Regions from separate parts of the Homo sapiens genome. Here regions 1, 2, 3, 5 and 6 are each linked to region 4. Evidence: promoter capture Hi-C in 16 types of primary human blood cells and fetal thymus (Javierre and others, 2016). All regions are on one chromosome and are shown on one strand. Each heading gives the region's core, a stretch centred on a gene start or on the middle of the fragment in contact. The rest is flanking DNA. Distances are from core to core; before and after follow the strand shown. Region 1 overlaps PHLDB1 (pleckstrin homology like domain family B member 1). Region 2 holds the start of DDX6 (DEAD-box helicase 6). Region 3 overlaps DDX6 (DEAD-box helicase 6). Region 4 holds the start of DPAGT1 (dolichyl-phosphate N-acetylglucosaminephosphotransferase 1). Region 5 overlaps USP2 (ubiquitin specific peptidase 2). Region 6 overlaps LOC105369519 (a long non-coding RNA gene).

What was found. Contacts are between HindIII fragments. The CHiCAGO score rates a contact against its expected background, and 5 or more counts as called.
Region 1: a contact is called between a fragment that was not itself captured here and the fragment with the promoter of DPAGT1 in region 4, in 1 of 17 cell types (total CD8 T cells). The highest score is 5.1, in total CD8 T cells.
Region 2: a contact is called between the fragment with the promoter of DDX6 here and the fragment with the promoter of DPAGT1 in region 4, in 8 of 17 cell types (fetal thymus, naive CD4 T cells, non-activated CD4 T cells and 5 more). The highest score is 8.3, in fetal thymus.
Region 3: a contact is called between a fragment that was not itself captured here and the fragment with the promoter of DPAGT1 in region 4, in 1 of 17 cell types (erythroblasts). The highest score is 5.1, in erythroblasts.
Region 5: a fragment that was not itself captured here is called in contact with the fragment with the promoter of DPAGT1 in region 4 in 1 of 17 cell types (M0 macrophages); the score reaches 5.0 in M0 macrophages.
Region 6: a fragment that was not itself captured here is called in contact with the fragment with the promoter of DPAGT1 in region 4 in 6 of 17 cell types (M1 macrophages, total CD8 T cells, M2 macrophages and 3 more); the score reaches 6.6 in M1 macrophages.

The regions. Positions count from the first base shown.
Region 1 is chr11:118,614,390-118,617,626 of GRCh38, reverse strand. It overlaps PHLDB1 (pleckstrin homology like domain family B member 1), which reads right to left. Exons shown (of 23, transcript NM_001144758.3): 3 at 2,945-3,068; 4 at 1,416-1,586. Among named protein-coding and RNA genes, the nearest start is that of PHLDB1, 8.4 kb to the right of the region's middle. RefSeq lists enhancers at 1,142-1,658, 1,659-2,176. The HindIII fragment of the contact is 5,173 bases long and covers 1-3,237 here.
Region 2 is chr11:118,789,683-118,792,772 of GRCh38, reverse strand. It overlaps DDX6 (DEAD-box helicase 6), which reads left to right and starts at 1,609. Exons shown (of 14, transcript NM_004397.6): 1 at 1,609-1,675. RefSeq lists enhancers at 222-777, 1,394-1,503, 2,814-2,993, 2,452-3,009 and silencers at 834-1,123, 1,574-1,903, 2,534-2,613. The HindIII fragment of the contact is 4,863 bases long and covers 1,426-3,090 here.
Region 3 is chr11:118,770,172-118,773,715 of GRCh38, reverse strand. The region is part of intron 4 of DDX6 (DEAD-box helicase 6); the gene reads left to right. Among named protein-coding and RNA genes, the nearest start is that of DDX6, 19 kb to the left of the region's middle. The HindIII fragment of the contact is 1,291 bases long and covers 1,022-2,312 here.
Region 4 is chr11:119,100,603-119,103,750 of GRCh38, reverse strand. DPAGT1 (dolichyl-phosphate N-acetylglucosaminephosphotransferase 1) reads left to right here and starts at 1,898. Exons shown (of 9, transcript NM_001382.4): 1 at 1,898-2,256; 2 at 2,613-2,733; 3 at 2,908-3,121. The coding sequence starts at 2,096. It also overlaps a transcript of C2CD2L not described here. RefSeq lists enhancers at 630-1,342, 1,554-1,863, 1,046-2,245, 2,057-2,770. The HindIII fragment of the contact is 9,998 bases long and covers 1,530-3,148 here.
Region 5 is chr11:119,371,156-119,374,636 of GRCh38, reverse strand. It overlaps USP2 (ubiquitin specific peptidase 2), which reads left to right. Exons shown (of 13, transcript NM_004205.5): 2 at 1,116-1,930. The coding sequence starts at 1,157. Among named protein-coding and RNA genes, the nearest start is that of USP2, 8.8 kb to the left of the region's middle. RefSeq lists an enhancer at 1,177-1,677. The HindIII fragment of the contact is 2,629 bases long and covers 420-3,048 here.
Region 6 is chr11:118,701,949-118,705,156 of GRCh38, reverse strand. It overlaps LOC105369519 (a long non-coding RNA gene), which reads right to left. Exons shown (of 4, transcript XR_007062909.1): 3 at 319-549. It also overlaps the pseudogene RNU6-376P. Among named protein-coding and RNA genes, the nearest start is that of TREH, 24 kb to the right of the region's middle. RefSeq lists an enhancer at 1-443. The HindIII fragment of the contact is 1,242 bases long and covers 1,338-2,579 here.

The DNA.
Region 1 (3,237 bases), core at 713-3,212, 490 kb after region 4:
CCGGGCGGTGGCAGGTGCCTGTAATCCCAGCTACTTGGGAGGCTGAGGCAGGAGAATCGCTTGAGCCTAGGAGGTGGAGGTTGTAGTGAGCCGAGATCATGCCACTGCACTCCAGCCTGGGCAACAGCGTGAGACTCCGTATCAAAAAAAAAGACGGGGGAAATGTCAGGTCTCCTGGATCAGCTGTGAAGGAAGTGACATTGAAAGGCCTTAAGGAGGATGAAGAGGAGAGAAGGAGACAGTGGAGTGAGTAGGATGGCCACTTCCAAGGGGCTTCTAGGCAGTAAGAGCCCCCAGAAAACAATGCCAGACCATCAGAGCCTGCTCAGAGCCAGGCTTAGCCCAAAGTTCCTGTCCTGCTGTTAGCCTTTAACTTCACCTCTAACCTCCACCCAAATCTGTTTTTCTCATTCTCCTAATCTGACAACTCACTGTATGAACTGATGCCCAGAACCCTGTTTCCAGGGTGAGCACACCTGGTCTGTCAAAGTGCTACCTGGGCCAACCGCTTACCTGCCTGCTAACCATAGTAATTATGGGCCTAGTTTTTATTTATTTTTATTTTTTATTTATTTATTTTTTGAGACGGAGTCTTGCTCTGTTGCCCAGGCTGGAGTGCAATGGTGCCATCTCAGCTCACTACAACCTCTGCCTCCCAGGTTCAAGCGATTCTCCTATCTCAGCTTCCCGAGTAGCTAGGACTACAGGCGTGTGCCACCACGTGTGGCTAATTTTTGTATTTTGGGTAGAGACAGGGTTTCACCATGTTGTCCAGGCTGATCTCGAACTCCTGTCCTCAAGTGATCCACCCACCTCGGCCTACCAAAGTGCTGGGATTGTAGGCGTGAGCCACCATGCCTAGCCAGGGGCCTAGTTTTTAGAGCTACCTTACACAACAGAATGGCCTATTGCTTTGGGTTATATTCGTGACCCAAAAGTTACTGTCAGCAGTCTTGTAACAGGAGCAGGCATGTCCTGAGATTTACCCTTGCCCCATCCCCATCAGGAAGTATTGTCCTCCTCTCCAGCTTCTCAAAACAACTTCCTCTTGGCATCATGGAACAATGCCATTGATACCCTCTCACTGCTGCTCCAATTGCTCTTCCCCAACAACCATTAACAACGCCATCATGCCCCAGGCCCTCTGATGGCGGGAATCAGAACCTCTTCTCTCCCCATAGTATGTGGAGACAGGTTGGGGGTGACCAGAGAAGAAAAGCAGGTTGAAAACATGTCTGGATGCTGAAAGGGTTTGGGATGTTGTTTAGGCACATCCAGATGCACCTGAGTACTCCATTCCCAGTATGGTCACTCAGGCAGTTACCATGGCAACCACCACAGCCAGCCTCCCCTGTGCCTAATACACACAAGCCTTTAAACAGAGGCCCCCTCCATCTGGAGGTGTCCAGCCTTACCCTGAGTGAGCCGGGTAGGCTGCCGGACAGGGAGCCCATCAATAGTGCAGGCATTGCCACAGGGGTAGAGGGTGAGGGTGCCCCGCAGGTTCTCGATGTAGCAGTGCTCTGGAGCCAGGCCTGGGCCCTGTAGTGAGATGTCTCTGGCTGCAGAGCCAATCACCGTCCTCCCTGGAGACAAGAGGCAAACTGAATCAGAGGGGTTGTCCAGGCTGAGGAGGCAGTGACAGGGCAAGGAGGGCCACAGTGGAAACATATTTCCACCTCCTACTCCAGGGAGAATCTCTGCCCACCACTGGCCACCCCTACTAGGCCCCTGAGCCTGGTCTATACAGTAAGTGATGGACGCTGTTCTCAAACAGAGAAAACTCTGCCTGAGAATGGGAGGCCCAGAGATGGGAAGACCCAGACAGCACACAGTAGGACCTAGACTCCACAGATGGAGAAGGAAGACTGCTTTTCTGCAGATCTTCCCTTATTCCCCCAACTGCCTCTCCCTATTGTCCTTTATCCTTTTTCCCCTTCATCCTACTCCTCATTTCTTCTAAATCTCCCTTTCTCTCCTTCTTCTCTCCCCCGCTTCTGCTACCTGCAACACTTCGTCTCCCTTGCTAACCTCTCTCTTCAGTGCAACCTCTCTCTTCAGTGCAGGCTCTCCCCTAACTGCAGCAAGAACAGCCCCTCCCGCTGACAGAGCCCCTGGGACTGGTATTTGGAGAATGTGGAGAATGTAGTATCACCCAGGCAACAAGTGCAGCCAGGAGAGTAGAGAGGGCGGGCAGAAGCTGAAAGGTGAAGGGGGCTGTGCCAGGGCCTCATCTTGGGAGATCTTGCCCTGACTCCCATCTCTCCATTCTCCATCTATGGTATACCCTCCCATGCAAGACAATGCCCTGGAGCGGGGCCCTTTTTCTTCTTGGCCACATTGGTTGCTAAGAGCAATGTGTTCTCCTGTTTCTCTCAGTGCTTTCTTCATGGTTTCTTTTCTTCTTCTTTTTTTTTTTTTTTTTTTTTTTTGAGATAGAGTCTCGCTCTGTTGCCCAGGCTGGAGTGCAGTGGCACGATCTCGGCTCACTGCAACCTCTGTCTCCTGGGTTCAAGCGATTCTTCTGCCTCAGCCTCCTGAGTAGCTGGGACTACAGGCCCGTGCCACCACGCCTGGCTAATTTTTGTATTTGTAGTGGAGATGGGGTTTCACCATATTGGCCAGGCTGGTCTAGAACTCCTGACCTCGTGATCCGCCTGCCTCAGCCTCCCAAAGTGCTGGGATAACAGGCGTGAGCCACCACACCTGGCCTCTCCTCCTTGTTTCTAAGCTGATCTTTAAGCCCAGTCGTGGAACCAGATCATCTACCAAGGAAGGCAGGCAGTCTGGGGAGGCAGAGACAAGGGAAGCAAGCTGGTGGTGTGGGGAGGCGAGCACCAGCAGACAGTAGAAGGGCCCCAACACATGCAGGAGGTGGGCCTCCAGGGCAGGAATGCCTATAAGGATAGAGGGGTGGTGAGTGAGATGCCCTGTTCACACTTACCTTCCTCCAGCGGCAGGAGGGTGATGGCTGTGCTGAGTCGCCCACTGCCCAGGCTCACCAGGTGGGGTTTGTCCGTTTGCACTTTCAGCCCTTTGCCTGTCTCGATCAGGTCCAAGGGTCCTTTCTGTAGGTAGTACGGGTGGAGGACAAGCATCATTAGATTCAGCACCTTACCACCCTAAACCAGTCACACCAGCACTCTCTCCAGCCCTCGCCCCTCTCCGAAGGGCTCTGAGGGTGCTGAAAGGCTTAGCACAAAATCTTACACAGAGCATGATTCCACTAAATTGTAA
Region 2 (3,090 bases), core at 360-2,859, 310 kb after region 4:
TATTCAGTCTCTCAATTGGGTGAGGATTAGATTTTGTTTCTCTTGACCTAGCTAGCTTTTAGCTCCAAAGTTTTGTTTAACTTGGAAGAAGACAGCAGTTCTATTATTTCTGTCAAGGATAAACACAGACATTGGGATCTGAAAAGTATTATGGGAACATACATAAATATCTTCATAGTGAGGGTCAGGCCGGAGAGTCACCCTTTGCCTTAAGCTTCTCCATTTCCTTACTGAATTCCTATTTCTATTATAACTGACGCTTCACTAGCTTCCCTCCCTTTAGTGGAGGGCCCGGCCTCCTCCGCCCCTACTTTCTTCAGTCTTGCCCTTCGAGGGCAGGAGAAGACGGTTGCGCCCTACTAACTCTTCACCTTACAGTCCAGCTTCTCCCCCCACCACCCCGGTGCGCTCTCTCGGTTTGCTACCCTCTCCACCAGGCCTCCCCACTCCACCTGCGCAACGCCCCCAGCTCCGTGCTCTCCGGAGTAATCCCCCCTCAGTCGCACTCTCACAGCCCGGCCCCTGCCCCCGCCTCACCCCCAGTTGTGCCTTCACCTCCCGGTTCCTCCTAGACAGGTCCCCCAAGATACGCCCTCACAGTCCGGTCCCCCGCCGTCCTCTCCCGGCGCACGCTCAAGTCCGGTGCCTTCCCCCCGCAGACCCCCGAGGCGCACCCTCAAGCTCGGTGCCTCTGCGCCCCCCGCAGGGGCGCCCTCAAGCCTGGTACCCTTCACATGAGAGCCCCCCGGGCGCACCCTCAAGCTCGGTGTACCCCCCCATACCACCCGCAGGCGCGCCCTCATGCCCGAAGACTTCCCCCGCCCAGGTGCACCCTCAAGCCCGGTGCCTTCCCCCACAACCAGCGCCCCCAGGCGCACCCTCAAGCCCGGAGCCTACCCGCCGCCAGGCGCGCCCTACAGGCTCGCCCCGTCCCACCGCGCAGCGCCCCCCGCGCACTCTCTGGAGTCCTCCCTCCTGCCTGGTGCGGCCTCCGGGCCCGGTCGGCCCCCCTTCCTGCCCCCACACTCAGACGCGCGCCCGGCGTCTCCGGGTCGCTAGTTCCGCGCCTTCCTGCATGGAGGCGCGCCCCGAGAGGCTCGGACGCGGCCCCTTAGGCCCGGCATCAGCCTCCCCGGCCAGCTGGAGAAGTCAGGTCAGCTTCCTGTCCCCGAGCAGCTGCCCGGGGGCCAGTTTTCAAAACATATCCTTAGTCATGTAATAAAGAGATGTTCCTCTGGTCTCAACTCCCGATTTTTACTTTGGAGGGGCGAAGGCAGGCCTACCCTTGCCAGCCACCATTTCTCAATCACGTCGCGGCTGTGGAAAAGCAGCCGTCCTGTCCCTTCAGAAAGGAACTCGTATTTCCCCCTCGAACTTTTCTCGTCGGTGTGAGAGAAGGGCCCTCCATTTTCTCCTCAGGAAGCTTTCGCGGCCCGACTTCCTCTCACCACCAGGCCAGGAAGGCAGTGACGCCGCGGCGAATATAGCCGCGGCGGCCGAGGTTTCGCCATCTTGAGTGGAGGAGGAGCCGCGGTCGCCGCCATGCGGAGAGGCAGGGAAAGAGGGAGGAGGCGGCGGGCGGGCGAACGGGCGAGCGAGGGAGGGGGCAGAGGAGCCGAGTTAGCTCAGCCAGGCGGCGACTTCGGCGGCGCCACGAGAGCGGGCAGCGGAGGAGGTAGGGCTGGACAGCCGGGGGAGCCGGCGGCTCGGGCGGCTGGCCTGCGCGCCCCTCGGAGCGGGGCGGGGGCGGGGGCGAGAGGAGGCCGTAGCGAGAGGGCTGGGTGGGGGCGGGCGGAGGTTTCCGAGGAGGAAGGAGCGTCCGCCATTTTGGGAGCTTCGAGTCAACAATAAAGGACCGAGGGTGCCGAGCGGGAGTGGCCTCGTTGGTAGGACACGGGCCCGAGTCGCGAGGCTTGGGGTGAGGTGGTGGGGTCGAGGTCAGCGGTGCTTTGGGGGCTGTGGGGAGCCCCCCGGGCCGGCTCTGGGGGACTCTCGGGCGGAGGCCTAAGGCCTGGCCGGGCCTGGGGAGGAAGGCGGTCGGCAGCTGTGTGGGGTGGGAGCGCCTGAGAGGAGGCGAATATAGGAATGTGGTGCGCAGCAGGGTCGGCAGGAGGAACAGGCTAAGTACTCGGAGTAGCTTTATCGAAGATGAGGGAATATGAGGCCGAAGGGGGCGGCAAGGACTTAGGGGGATGATGGTGGAGGTTATAGGGTACGAGGCGGCCCTATAGGGGGCGGCAGGGACATGCTGTATTGGAGGGCTCGGTTTAGAAGCAAACCGGCCGCTGCTTGATTGCAGTAGGCCTTGCGGGTCAATAACAAGAGGGTATTTATGGAGCCCCCGACTCTTGGAGGAAAGGAGGGGGATTTCTGGTTTAGGGGGTCCATTTGGGGCCTCCTTGGGGGAGTCCCTATTGTTTGCTACTAATGGAGCGGTTGCTGGCTCATATTGCGCAGATAAGATTGCAGAGCCCCAACCTTTTGTGTTTATGGTCAGAAGTGTGTGTGTTTGGGGCGTGGGGCGGGGTGCGGGGGGACAAGAAATTTCCTTTCAGTTACGGGGTTCCAGTCATTAGTCAATGACTCTTTCCCGTATCTCTCTCCTTTCTCTTCCTCAGCCCCCATTTCCCTTCAGAATAAAACCCAGTCACTCCAACTTGCAGGCAAAGCTAGAAAAACTGCGCTGCATTTGCAAACAAAAGCTCTTGTTGGCGATGACGATACTGTTTTGGGTGTGAAACTGTCAATTGCTAACTACGATCTGTGAAGTGCTGTAATTAACTCCGCTAGGGGCTCCTCCCAACTAGTCTACGTTTCTTGTTGTTTGTTTTTTGTTTTTTTGTTTTTTGTTTTTGAAAATGTAGAAAACTTGCAAATCTAAATTGGGAAGGGGTAGGAGGAATATTTCCTTCTCTGAGAAAAAGCTGCAGTGCAGGTTTCAGTTTAAGAAGGGAGCAGTTATCACATAGTCTCATTTTGGATTTAAGGATATAGGAGGTCTTACTGTGCATGATGGACAGTAATGATGATATCGTTCGGTCTTTAGAGGTTGCCCTTTTCATCCTCTTAGTGCTCTGCAAACAGCTAAGT
Region 3 (3,544 bases), core at 418-2,917, 330 kb after region 4:
TCCCCAGCCTAAATTAGAGATATAATTAGAAATTACCATCTCCCTTTTTTTTTTTCCTGTTAAGCAGGGGACATTTGTAACAATCATTGCTACCTCGTCTGGAGTAACCATAGGTTGTTTTTTTGTTTTGTTTTATTTTGTTTTGAGACAGAGTCTCGCTCTGTCGCCCAGGCTGGAGTGCAGTGGTGCAATCTTGGCTCACTGCAAGTTCTGCCTCCTGGGTTCACGCCATTCCCCTACCTCAGCCTCCCAAGTGGCTGGGACTGCAGGCGCCTGCCACCACGCCCGGCTAATTTTTTTGTATTTTTTTAGTAGAGACGGGGTTTCACCATGTTAGCCAGGATGGTCTCCATCTCCTGACCTCATGGTCTGCCCACCTCGGCCTCCCAAAGTGTTGGGATTACAGGCGTGAGCCACCGCGCCCGGCCTTTAACCATAGGTTTTTTTTCCCTCTTGGAAATTAAGGTTTGGAAAATAAGAGGAAGCAGTCAGTGTAAATGCAGCTAGTTGGGTGATGTTGAGCTTTTGTTGGTACCACACTTTTGTAAAATGCCTCTCAATGCTAGGAGATTGGAAAATAAACCATTCTTTAATTATAGGCATCAGAAACCAACTCGATCTAACTTAAGCAAAAGGAAATTTATTGGAAAAATAACGGGAATTCACAAGATTGAGAAGGCTAGAGAAACATACTTGGAAATGACTAAGAATTGAGATAGCTCTGAAGGACTTAGGAAGCTGTAATGGATGCACTATAACAATTTAGATTCTTAGGAGGCAACATTCCGCTGGCCCAGTGTGGGCTATGTGTCTACCACTTGGCTTAGAAAATTGGTGAGGCTTGGTCTGTTGGGACAGGGGAGACCAGGGCATATGTAATTCCTTAGAAGGAAATTGGGGTGTTACTTAGTAAAGGGATACTAGAGTAACCAAAACACAACAAATACTCTTCAGTCATTATCTAAACGTTACAGTGAATGTGAATTTGGAGACCTAAGGTGGCAGATGTCAGCCCTAAGCTTGTGGGGTTGGTTTTTTGGGGTTTTGTTTTTTGGGGGTAATAGCTTTATTGAGATATAAATGACATCACACATCAAAAGTATACAATTTAATGCTTTTTAGTGCATTTAGAGTTCTGCAACCATTACCACAATAAATTTTAGAACATTTTGATCAGTCCCACAAAAGAAACCCTTTTAGCAGTCACACCTCATTTTCCCACACCCCTAAACAACCACTGGTATACTTTCTGTCATTCTAGCTTTGCCTAGTCTGGACATGTCATATAAATAGAATCCTATAGTATGTGTTTTTTTTGTGACTGGCTTCTTTGACTTAGCGTAATGTTTTCCGAGTTCATCTGTGTTGTAGCTTGTATCAATATTCCATTCCTTTTTCCTGAATAATATTTTATTGTATGGCTCTATTACTTCTGATTTATCCAGTCATCAGTTGGTAGACATTTGGGGTTGTTTTCCAAGGACTGAGGATTTAATGTGCTATTTTGTGAAAATCTGAGAAGTAGGAAGGGGATTTAATGATCTCAACTGTCATCCGTCTGAAAAACCTAACTTGTGATTTTAAATAAAATAGCAGGCTGCCTTCCCCTGTTCCCTTTTTAAAATAGGAACTGACCCTGCTTTAACCTTATGAAGTTTTATTTATGAATAAAGTTTGTACTATTATAAAAAAAAACATAGAAGGAACTGGCTATTAAGGATAATGCTGCTATGAAAATTCAGGTGCAGGTTTTTGTGTGGAGATGTTTTTATTTCTCTTCGCTGTATACCTAGAATTGCTAGTTCATATGGTAACTCTTTTTAACCTTTTGAGGAACTGCAAGGCTGGTTTCCAGCGTAGCTGTACATTCCCACTAGCAGTGTATGAGAGTTCCATTTTCTCCAACTTCTTGCCTACATGTTATGTGCAGATCTAAGTTCAAATACTGGCTAAAGCATTTCTTGCTTTGTGACCTTGGGCAAACTAATCCTGTTTAGGATCCATTTTGTCAGTTGTAAAACAAAGTACCTAACTTGAAAGTTGTGCTGAGCACATAGTAAGTTTTAAAAAAAGTTTTCGTTTCCTTCCTCCTTTGCCTTCTCCCTGGCAGTTCCTCATAATTTCCTCTTGTATTTCACAGCTTTTTGAACTTGACTTGAATTCTCTTGCTTTTCATTATTTCCTGAGAAACACTGGTAAGAGGCAGTGTGGATGTGCTGAATTCACTGACTGTTAATCATAATGGCCATCATATAAGGCAAAATATCAGGGTGTCTTAACTTACAGTCTATCACATGTACTTTGTTAAAGCTTTATCCTTGAACAGTTTTTGTAGGGTATAATCCCTGTCAAAGAGGGCAAAGGAATAGAAGTCAATGGCCTTAATCAAGTCAGTCAAAAGATGAACTGAAAAGGGGGATTAGGATACCTCTAGTCTAATTCTGTTCTGCCTCACTTGATTGAAAAAAAGGTTTACACTTTAAAGAACCTGACCCAGCAAGTCGTTATGAGACCATCAGAGACCACCTATCTTACTTTTTCAATACTGTAAAACTGAGTAGTGTGCAGGCAGCCTGTTAAAAACTACAGACTACTGGCACCACAGAACCACAAAAGAGAAAACCTGAGGTGACAGGGTAATGGGAGCCTCTGGAACAACTGGAAATAATGGTTCACTTATCTGTGATGAGGGAAGAAATTTAAGACCAAAGGGTTAAAGCCAAGGTTTTCTTCTTTGTTTGCTTTACCTTAATAAGCAGAGTCTTTAATGCTGGCTGTAAGAACAAGACAACAGTATTTTCTTTTCTTTTCTCTCTCTTTTTTTTTTTTTTTGTGAGACTGAGTCTTGCTCCATTGCCCAGGCTGGAGTGCAGTGGCGCAATCTTGGCCCACTGCAACCTCCTCCTCCTGGGCTCAAGCAGTTCTCCTACCTCAGGCTCCCAAGTAGCTGGGACTACAGGTGCGCACCATGACCATTTTTGTATTTTTAACAGAGATGGGGTTTCACCATGTTGGCCAGGCTGGTCTCGAACTCCTGACCTCAGGTGATCTGCCTACCTCAGCCTCCCAAAGTGCTGGGATTACAGACATGAGCCATCGTTCCCAGCCAACAACAATATTTTCACAGTTGTTCTGGCAGCTGTGTTGTTCTGACCATATGGAACCCATTTATATCCTGTGATTGGAGCTCTAGGTAGAAAGAGTGTTGTCGTGGGAGATGGAAGTCATCCTGCTTATTTAGTCATTTCTACCAATAGCAGCTTTAAAGGGCTAAAGCTGTTTTTTGTTTGTTTGTTTGTTTTTGTCGTTAGCCCAGGCATAGAAGGGACAAATGTCAGTGACTGTGAATTTGGTTCCTAGTATCTTAGTTTTAGAAATTAAAAATTCAGGCCAGACACAGTGGCTCATGCCTGTAATCCCAACACTTTGGGAGGCCGAGGTCGGTGGATCATCTGAGGTCATGAGTTCAAGACCAGCCTGGCCAACATGGTGAAACACCCCGTCTCTACTAAAAATACAAGAATTAGCTGGGTGTGGTGGCACA
Region 4 (3,148 bases), core at 649-3,148:
TTTCAAGTAGAAAAGCCATTTCACATCTGATTTAGTTTGTTTGTTTGTTTGTTTTGAGACAGTTTCCCCTCTGTTGCCCAGGCTGGGATGCAGTGGCATGATCGCGGCTCACTGCAACCTCCTCATCCCAGGTTCAAGCGATCCTCCTGCCTCAGCCTCCTGAGTAGCTGAGATTACAGGCATGTGCCACCACACCCGGCTAATTTTTGTATTTTCAGTAGAGACGGGGTTTCACCGTGTTGGCCAGGCTGGTCTCGAACTCCTGACCTCAAGTGAGCCACCCACCTTCGCCTACCAAAGTGCTGGGATTACAGACGTTAGCCACTGCGCCCGGCCTCACATCTGATTTTGAGGGAAAGAAGAAACTATCTTCGGCTTAAAAACGGTCAACATGACCCTGACTCCTGGAACATGCCATAGAGGGAAGAGTGGACAAAGCGCTAGGCTATTGGAGTCCTTTCCCTAACTCACTGGTGGTGACTTCCTCTCTGACAAATGGAAATCATTTGCCGCCTAAGAGCCTGTCGGGGAATGAAAGGTAATAAAGATGCTGGTGAACTGGCTGGGCGTGGTGGCTCACGCCTGTACTCCCAGCATTTTGGGAGGCCAAGGCGGGCAGATCACCTGAGGTCGGGAGTCCCAAACCAGCCTGACCAACATAGGGAAATCCCGTCTCTACTAAAAATACAAAATTAGCCGGGCGTGGTGGCGCATGCCTGTAATTCCAGCTACTGCCTGTAATCCCAGCTACTCGGGAGGCTGAGGCAGGAGAATCTCTTGAACCTGGGAGGTGGAGGTTTCGGTGAGCCGAGATCGCGCCATTGCACTCCAGCCTGGGCAACAAGAGCGAAACTCTGTCTCAAAAAAAAAAAAAAAAAAAAAAAAAAAAAGCTGGTGAATTGTTGTTTGCAGGGGAACAGGCCAAGCAAAATGCACAGCAACCTGCAGGAGGCCAAGCAAAATGCACAGTGACCTACAGGAAGAAACCTGACTGGGAGTTCCTCAGACTCACAGGAAATCAGTTGTGGGTCTGATTCCTCTCCCTCCTCAGCTCTTTCCAGAGCCTCAGCCTGGAAATCTCCATCTCCTCCTTGTGGGAGCTAGGTACAATGCAGTGATCCACGGCCAAGCTGAAGTCTCGAGTTAAATCCAAGACCTGAGGGTACTCCCAATCCCTCAGTGAAGTGCTGCGCTGGGTTGCCGGGCAACTAACTGCTACAGCTGGGGCAGAAGGTGGGTGGGATGCTGAGAAAAAAATACCAGAATCGAGGACAAGAAAAACAGAGTGGGAGGGGCTTTTCAAGGATCTACGCTTTAGAATTTACACCATCCTTCCAAATCGTAGCTTTGTTTCCGGGAACTGAGTTGTGTTTACCTTGGCTTCCGACTATGTTGGCAACAGGTTTCCTGCAAGAAACAGGCGCGTCTCCACACCCTCGTCCCTCCTCCCCACCCCCTGCCTTTCAATAGCCATCTTCCTGGAGCCGGAGGCATCCCAGATTAAGGGAGAGGTACGGGCCCTTTAAGCTTGACCTATGGAGGCGGACGGAGCTAAAACTGACGTGGAACCGGAATGTGAGCGGTGTCAGACACGTGGTACAAGGAGGCATTCATCTTGGAACCGGGCAATTGGCATTTCCGCTCTGGGTAGTACATCTTTAACATAATGTTAGGGAAGTATCCGTTCTTGGCTGCCTTTCTTTAATTGCGTTTCCAGTACTCTCTCGGTGATTCTACTCTTGAACATAGGATGAAATTTGGAATCACACTTCTCTTCCACTTCCATCCCCACCCTCTAATGCCCATATTAAAAATGGCGGCCGCCGCCTTCCGCAGTAATGGTTGTTCAGCGAACAAGATCCGGGCGGAAACAGTAGATAGGCGGGTGCAGCGGGGCAGAACATAGGTTGCCTTAGAGAGGTTCCCCGGTGTCCCGACGGCGGCTCAAGTCAGAGTTGCTGGGTTTTGCTCAGATTGGTGTGGGAAGAGCCTGCCTGTGGGGAGCGGCCACTCCATACTGCTGAGGCCTCAGGACTGCTGCTCAGCTTGCCCGTTACCTGAAGAGGCGGCGGAGCCGGGCCCCTGACCGGTCACCATGTGGGCCTTCTCGGAATTGCCCATGCCGCTGCTGATCAATTTGATCGTCTCGCTGCTGGGATTTGTGGCCACAGTCACCCTCATCCCGGCCTTCCGGGGCCACTTCATTGCTGCGCGCCTCTGTGGTCAGGACCTCAACAAAACCAGCCGACAGCAGATGTGAGCAGCGGCACACGGGTCCGGGCAGGGGGCAAGGGCTAAGGAAGGAGTGGCTAGGGCAGGGGCGGGAACCGGGGTGCTTGACCACACGTGAAGACTCAGAACTAACCCAGGCAGCCTGGAACTCGGAGAGGTGATGAGCAGAACTTACTCGCATTGGGGAAAGGATGGGTAGGGACCCTTGGGTATATCTGGGACTCTGGCAGTGGTGCTTTCCTCCCTCCGCCCCCCTCACCACTTACCAGAATAAAAAACCGGGAATGAGAAGACCACTTTGGGTTACTGTAACACCTGCACTAGTGAGTGACCACGCCCCCTTTCCTCTTCCCCCTCGCCCCCTTGCTGCTGGGCCACAGCCCAGAATCCCAGGGAGTGATCAGCGGTGCTGTTTTCCTTATCATCCTCTTCTGCTTCATCCCTTTCCCCTTCCTGAACTGCTTTGTGAAGGAGCAGTGTAAGGCATTCCCCCACCATGAAGTAAGTGGGTTCGTGGGGGTGATTGCCTGTGGCTGGGACCTGGGAGGTACCTGAGAGAACTGGGGTTATTTGGGCTTGTGGGGAGGGGCTAAGAAATTATCAGAAAAGACAGGAATTCTTAAAAGGTGGAATGGGAGCAGGCTTGAGTCATGGACCTGCCCGAGCCTCCCCCAGTTTGTGGCCCTGATAGGTGCCCTCCTTGCCATCTGCTGCATGATCTTCCTGGGCTTTGCGGATGATGTACTGAATCTGCGCTGGCGCCATAAGCTGCTGCTACCTACAGCTGCCTCACTACCTCTCCTCATGGTCTATTTCACCAACTTTGGCAACACGACCATTGTGGTGCCCAAGCCCTTCCGCCCGATACTTGGCCTGCATCTGGACTTGGGTAGGTAGTCCTACCACTGCTGCCCCT
Region 5 (3,481 bases), core at 485-2,984, 270 kb before region 4:
CAACTGACCCTAAATCTGATGCGGGGGAGGTAACTCCAGGTTAAGTAGAAAGAACACTGGCCAGGATTTTAAAGACCTGGATTCCAGTCCTGGCTCTGCTGGTGTGTGGCCGGGGGCAAATAAGCATCACTTTTCCCATCTGTATAACAGATAGATTAAAATTCATGATCCTCTGGGGCTCTCAAAGCTCCACATTCAGCAGTGTCTGTGTTCCTTCACTAGACCCTCCCCAGCTGCAGGACTGGAGCAGGGAAGGACTGGGAATGCCACCTGCAGTGCAAGATTTGGGACTGTAGGGGGCCCCCTTTGCACAAGCATCGCCAGGACCAATTTGAGATCTGTGTTTGTAGAGGAAGCCTGTGTTGGTAGAGGAACTCTTAGGAGGCCACAGGGCCCTAACTCCACTTAGAACAGAAGCTTAGCTCAGTGAAGTGAGTGTCCCTCACTGTGGGACCATGCAGCAGGTGCTGGTGTCTGGGGAAAGGGTCTGGAGACCACGTTCTGGCCCCTCATTGTTGCATGCTCACTCACGGCCTCCCCTGCCCACCCACACCCCATTACTTCCTCCCCTGAGCCTCCTTGGCCTCACAGGGGATCTGACCAAATGATCTTCAGGTCATTCCAGCACAGACAGTCTAGGATTCCAAAAAGACACCTGCTCATCACATAAGTCAGAAGGGACAGATGTGGTCTTAACTCCTGAAATATCCAGCATTCTCAACCCAGGGGTCAGTGGCATTCCCCCAGCTCAAGAGTTTCTGCAGATGCTGAGGCAATGGGATTTGACCTGGAAGACTGCACGGCTTGGTGGGCTGTGGAGGTCAGATAGCCCCTGCTTGCGTGTTTGAGTCTTTGAATGGCCAGGATGCGCTGACTTCCTGTGTGGCATATAAAAGCCACCTCATCCCTCGCACTCTCACCGAGGTGTGAACACACAGGTGCAAGCAAGCTCCTGTGCACACCTGCGTGCATGTGTGCTTCTCAGCAGCCAGCCTGCCTCTTGTGGAAATGGACTGGGAGCTCTGAGGTTCTGGCCCAGCTGAGGATGGGGAGCAGGTCTGTGGGAGCCCGACACCTGGCAGGGCCCTCTGACAACTACACTCCTTGTCTTTCAGCCCATGAGGCTCCCAGTCCCCACTGAGTGCCACCCTGAAGGATGTCCCAGCTCTCCTCCACCCTGAAGCGCTACACAGAATCGGCCCGCTACACAGATGCCCACTATGCCAAGTCGGGCTATGGTGCCTACACCCCGTCCTCCTATGGGGCCAATCTGGCTGCCTCCTTACTGGAGAAGGAGAAACTTGGTTTCAAGCCGGTCCCCACCAGCAGCTTCCTCACCCGTCCCCGTACCTATGGCCCCTCCTCCCTCCTGGACTATGACCGGGGCCGCCCCCTGCTGAGACCCGACATCACTGGGGGTGGTAAGCGGGCAGAGAGCCAGACCCGGGGTACTGAGCGGCCTTTAGGCAGTGGCCTCAGCGGGGGCAGCGGATTCCCTTATGGAGTGACCAACAACTGCCTCAGCTACCTGCCCATCAATGCCTATGACCAGGGGGTGACCCTAACCCAGAAGCTGGACAGCCAATCAGACCTGGCCCGGGATTTCTCCAGCCTCCGGACCTCAGATAGCTACCGGATAGACCCCAGGAACCTGGGCCGCAGCCCCATGCTGGCCCGGACGCGCAAGGAGCTCTGCACCCTGCAGGGGCTCTACCAGACAGCCAGCTGCCCTGAATACCTGGTCGACTACCTGGAGAACTATGGTCGCAAGGGCAGTGCATCTCAGGTGCCCTCCCAGGCCCCTCCCTCACGAGTCCCTGAAATCATCAGCCCAACCTACCGACCCATTGGCCGCTACACGCTGTGGGAGACGGGAAAGGGTCAGGCCCCTGGGCCCAGCCGCTCCAGCTCCCCGGGAAGAGACGGCATGGTGAGTTTACCCTTGGGGACCGGGGATAGGCTGGGGAGGCAGCCACTGATGGAGAACAGCCAGGCTGAGGGCTCGACTCCCAACCTGACTGATGACTGACAGGCTGCTCCTGGTGGAGACAAACAAGAGAAGTCATCCTGGCACATCTGGTGCCCCTGGGGCTCCGTGCCGAGGGGAGGGGCCTTCCCACTCTGCCTAGAAAGCCCACTCAGGGCCCGCGCACTCGAGGATAGTCCAGTAGTGTTCTCAGGAATGCTCTGCTGCGCCCAATGAACCACTCTTCTCACCTTCTCCTTTTCTATGTGACATGCCAGTGTCTCCTGCAGGCCTTGCCCCAACCTGGGCTGGATGCGGGGGGGCCCAGACCACCAGTGCACCCTGTGGCAGGAGGGCCTCCTTGCTGTGGTTGCATCTCCCCTCTTGTGCAGGCTTTATTCCCTAGCCCCAAGGCCTGGCTTTACATTTGGACATAAGACATCAGGGGAAGAGGGACTCTCCTCTGAGTGACACTGGCATACTCAGGACCAGGGTATCAGACAGCAATGCTTATCATCTGGCTTTGGAGAAAGTAGGGGAGAAATTTTTATCTAGGGCTTGAGACAATCCAATACCTCTATTCCAGCCCTGCCTCAGCTGGAATGAGGGAAGAGGCTCTGCTGGAGACTGACCAAGGGCTGGCATGGGCTCGCTCGCCAACTAATGCCCGCACACGCCTCTCTTGGGGCACTGACGACATCTGCCTTTTCTGTAGTTATTAGTGTGCCCATTAGGTGGCAAGCTCTCAGAGGAGGAAAAAGAAATCCTATCTCTAGATCCCCTGCCACGTGCCTCCCACAATGGGGGCTGACCTGCTGATTGCAGGGATGAATGGATGGATGGATGTGTGGGTGGTGGGTGGGTGGATACACGGGTAGATGGCGGGTGGACAGATGGACAGGCAAGCATATGGGCAGAAGGGCTGGATGCTGTGTCTCCTCCATTACCTTATGTACCCCTCCCTACTCCTAGGACAAATACATTTTGAAAACAACAGCATGCCACAGCAAGAAATACTGCTTGGAGGGCTGATCCAGACAAATGCAGCAGGGGTTCAGGAATAGGGGCAGGACCTTGAAGCTTGCATAACTAAAGGTCTTGAGAGAGCAACTTTGATAATATGACTTAGGGAGTCTTGGCTTTGTTGTGCCATCTGTGAAGTGGCACAGGAGATAGAAACGCTGGTGCCTCCCAGAACATTCAGAACTTGACAAGGCAGGGCTGGATCCACTGTAGAAAGGAGTGGAGAAGAGAGATGTGTCACAACAGAGCTGGCATGGTGGGGAAGTATCAGCTCTCAGGGTGCTGCGTGCTGGGCTTGGAGTGGAGCAGGACTCACTTGGACTCGGCTGGTGCTGTTCAACCCCAGGGCAATTAGAATATGGCTCTCCTCGGAGGGGCTCGGGTCCTAGAAGCCTCTGCGGGGCTCCCTCCCCTTGCTCAGAAGAGAAGGGTTGTTTCATGGTCAGCAGTGCTCCTTAAAGTGGGGTCTGCAGACTGCCTGTGTCAGAGTCA
Region 6 (3,208 bases), core at 709-3,208, 400 kb after region 4:
GCTGGGCGTGGTGGCTCAACGCCTGTAATTCCAGCACTTTGGGAGGCCAAGGCGGGTGGATCACCTGAGGTCAGGAGTTCGAGACCAGCCTGGCAAACATGGTGAAACCTCGTCTCTACTAAAGATACAAAAATTAGCCAGGCATGGTGGCGGGCACCTGTCCCAGCTACTCAGGAGGCTGAGGCAGGAGAATCGCTTGAACCTGGGAGGCAGAGGTTGTGGTGAGCCAAGATTGTGCCACTGCACTCCCAGCCTGGGTGACAGAGACTCTGTCTCAAAAACAAAAACAAAAAAATCACAACCACCATTAACCACTACCTCGAAACTCTGTGGCTTCACATCGTGGAGTGGGAGTTGTCCTCAGCTCCTCATGCCAGGGGTAAAGATTCTTCATTATTCAAAAAAGGTGCCATCTGATTTGCTTCAGAAGTCTAACATTTTGTGAACCCTTTGACACTGCCGTTCCAGGTTCAGGAGTCTGTTGTAAGGAAATAATACTACAGTGCATAAAGACATGAGTACTCAGGCGTTCATTCTCCCCAGCGCTGTCTGTAAGAAAAAAAGGAATAAACTAAAATGTTTATGTTTATTCAGTGCTTAGTGATAAATAATTAAATAAATGTTGACACATCCACATAGTAGAATGCTGTGAGGCCATTAACATTAGAAGGTGGTAGAAAACATAATAACAGCCGTGCACGGTGGCTCGTGCCTGTAAATCCCAGCACTTTGGGAGGCCTAGGCGGGCAGTATCACCTGCAGGTCAGGAGTTCAAGACCAGCCTGGCCAACGTGGCGAAACCCCATCTCTATTAAAAATACAAAAATTAGCCAGGTGTGGTGGTACATGCCTGTAGTCCCAGCTACTCAGGAGGCTGAGGCAGGAGAATCACTTGAACCTGGGAGGCAGAGGTTGCAGTGAGCCAGGATGGGGCCACGGCACTCCAGCCTGGGCCAGCAAAGTGAGACTCCATCTGAAAAAAAAAAAAAAAAAAAAAAACCAAGAAAAGAAAAGATACTGACATGGAAAGGTAAACATGGTATGAATAGACCCAGGGATGGGCCCTGTGGTCCCACTCCCTGGTGTTCACACCCTGTGTAACCTCCTCCCCTGGAGCGCCGGTAGGACCTGCAACTTACTTCCAGCTAATAGACTGTGAAAAAGGTGAGGGGGTTTTGCAGACATAATTAGGGTCCTAAGTCAGTTGATTTTGAAGTCAAGGGGGCATTTTCATGGGTGGGCCTGACTAAATCAGGTGGAAGTCTTTGAAAGAGTGTCTGGGCCCTCTCAGAGGGTCAGAGACTCTCCGTCTATTACTGGCTTTGAAGAAGTAAGCTTCTCTGTGGTGACAGGGCCACTCAACAAGGAACTACTGTAGTCTCTAGTTGCTAAGGGCCATCCCTGGCTGACAGCCAACAAGAAAACATGAACCCCAGTTCTAGTCTTACAACCATAAGGAGAAGAATTCTGCCAACAGTCTGAGGGAGCTTGGGGGCCAATATTAAGCCTTAGATGAGACCAGCTGAGCCTCAGATGAGACCATAGCCCCAGCCAGCACCCGGACAGCAGCCTGGTAAAGCTCTGAAGCGGAGAACCTAGGTGAGCTGGGCCCAAATTTCTGCCCTCAGAAAAAGATGTGTGTTGTTTTAAGTTCCTTATCATGTGAAAAACAAAGAGCAGGTTATGAAATAATGTGTAGCAAAATCCCATTTTTGACTTGGAAAATGGGATCTTGACACATACTTAGGAAAAAACCTGAAACAAATACCAAAACACAGATGTTATATAAGGACTACAAAGGTATTATAAAATAGGATTAGAAAGTCTAGATACTTCAGGAATTAAAAGCATAAGAAAAGAGTAAAATACTATGACTAGGTACCATGGTTTGAATGTTGTCCTCTCTGCAATTTACATTGAAACTTCATCCCCACTGTGTCAGTGTTTTTTTTTATTTATTTATTTTATTTATTTATTTTTTGAGATGGAGTATTGCTCTGTCGCCAGGCTGGAGTGCAGTGGCGAGATCTCGGCTCACCACAACCTCTGCCTCCTGGGCTCAAGTGCTTCTCCTGCCTCAGCCTCTCCAGTAGCTGGGACTACAGGCGCATGCCACCACACCGGGCTAATTTTTTGTATTTTTAGTAGAGACGTGTTTTCACCATGTTAGCCAGGATGGTCTGGATCTCCTGACCTCATGATCCGCCCGCCGCGGCCTCCCAAAGTGCTGGGATTACAAGCATGAGCCACTGCACCAGGCCTAATTTAATTAATTTTCAAGTAAACTAATTAAGTGAAGATACAAAGTTGCAGAGAAAGAACATCTAGATTAGGCTGAGGCTGGGCACCTAACAGTTAATACCCTTTCATTTGTAATTGACATAGAAATATATTTAAATTGGCTTAAACAACAAGAAGCAGTTACTGCTCGTGTTACTGAAAATGAATGTGGTTGAATTCAGGTGGGAAACGATGCAGCTTTCAACCAGGCTTCAGGATCTGCTCCCTTTAAATCTCAGCTCTGCTCTTCTCCATGCTAGCTTCATTCCCAGGCTCTTTCTCTAACTAAAATGTAAGCTTAGGCCAGGCATGGTGGCTCATGCGGGAGGATCGCTTGAAGTCAGGAGTTCAAAACCAGCCTGGGAAACATAGTGAGACCCTGTCGCTATAAAATAAAATGTAAATGTATTGCTATTTTTATTTTATTTTTTTAATATGGAACACTTCATGAATTTGCACATCATCTTTGTGCTGGGGCCGTGCTAATCTTCTCTGTATTGTTCCAGTTTTAGCATATGTGCTGTGAACCAAGCACTGTGAATGTAAATAAAATAAAATAAAATATCACTATCATGAGGATAGTGACTTTCTCTTTTTTGTTCACTATTTAATCCCCAACACTTAAAATCGTATTTTTATTACTGCACATCATAAGCACCAAAAAAATTTCCAGGAAAAAAAGGAGGGGGCCAGGAGTGGTGGCTTATCCCTATAATCTCAACACTTTGGGCAGGAGGAGCTCTTGAGCCCAGGAGTTCAAGACCGCCCTGGGCAACAAAGTGAGACACTGCCTCTACAAAAATAAAAATTAAAAAAGAAAGAAAAGAGGAAAAGAAGGCGGAGGTATAGCAGCACAACAATTCTGGAGCAGAATAAATAAGACTATGTTAAATACATTTTAGAGAAACCGAATAACACTGAAGACAAA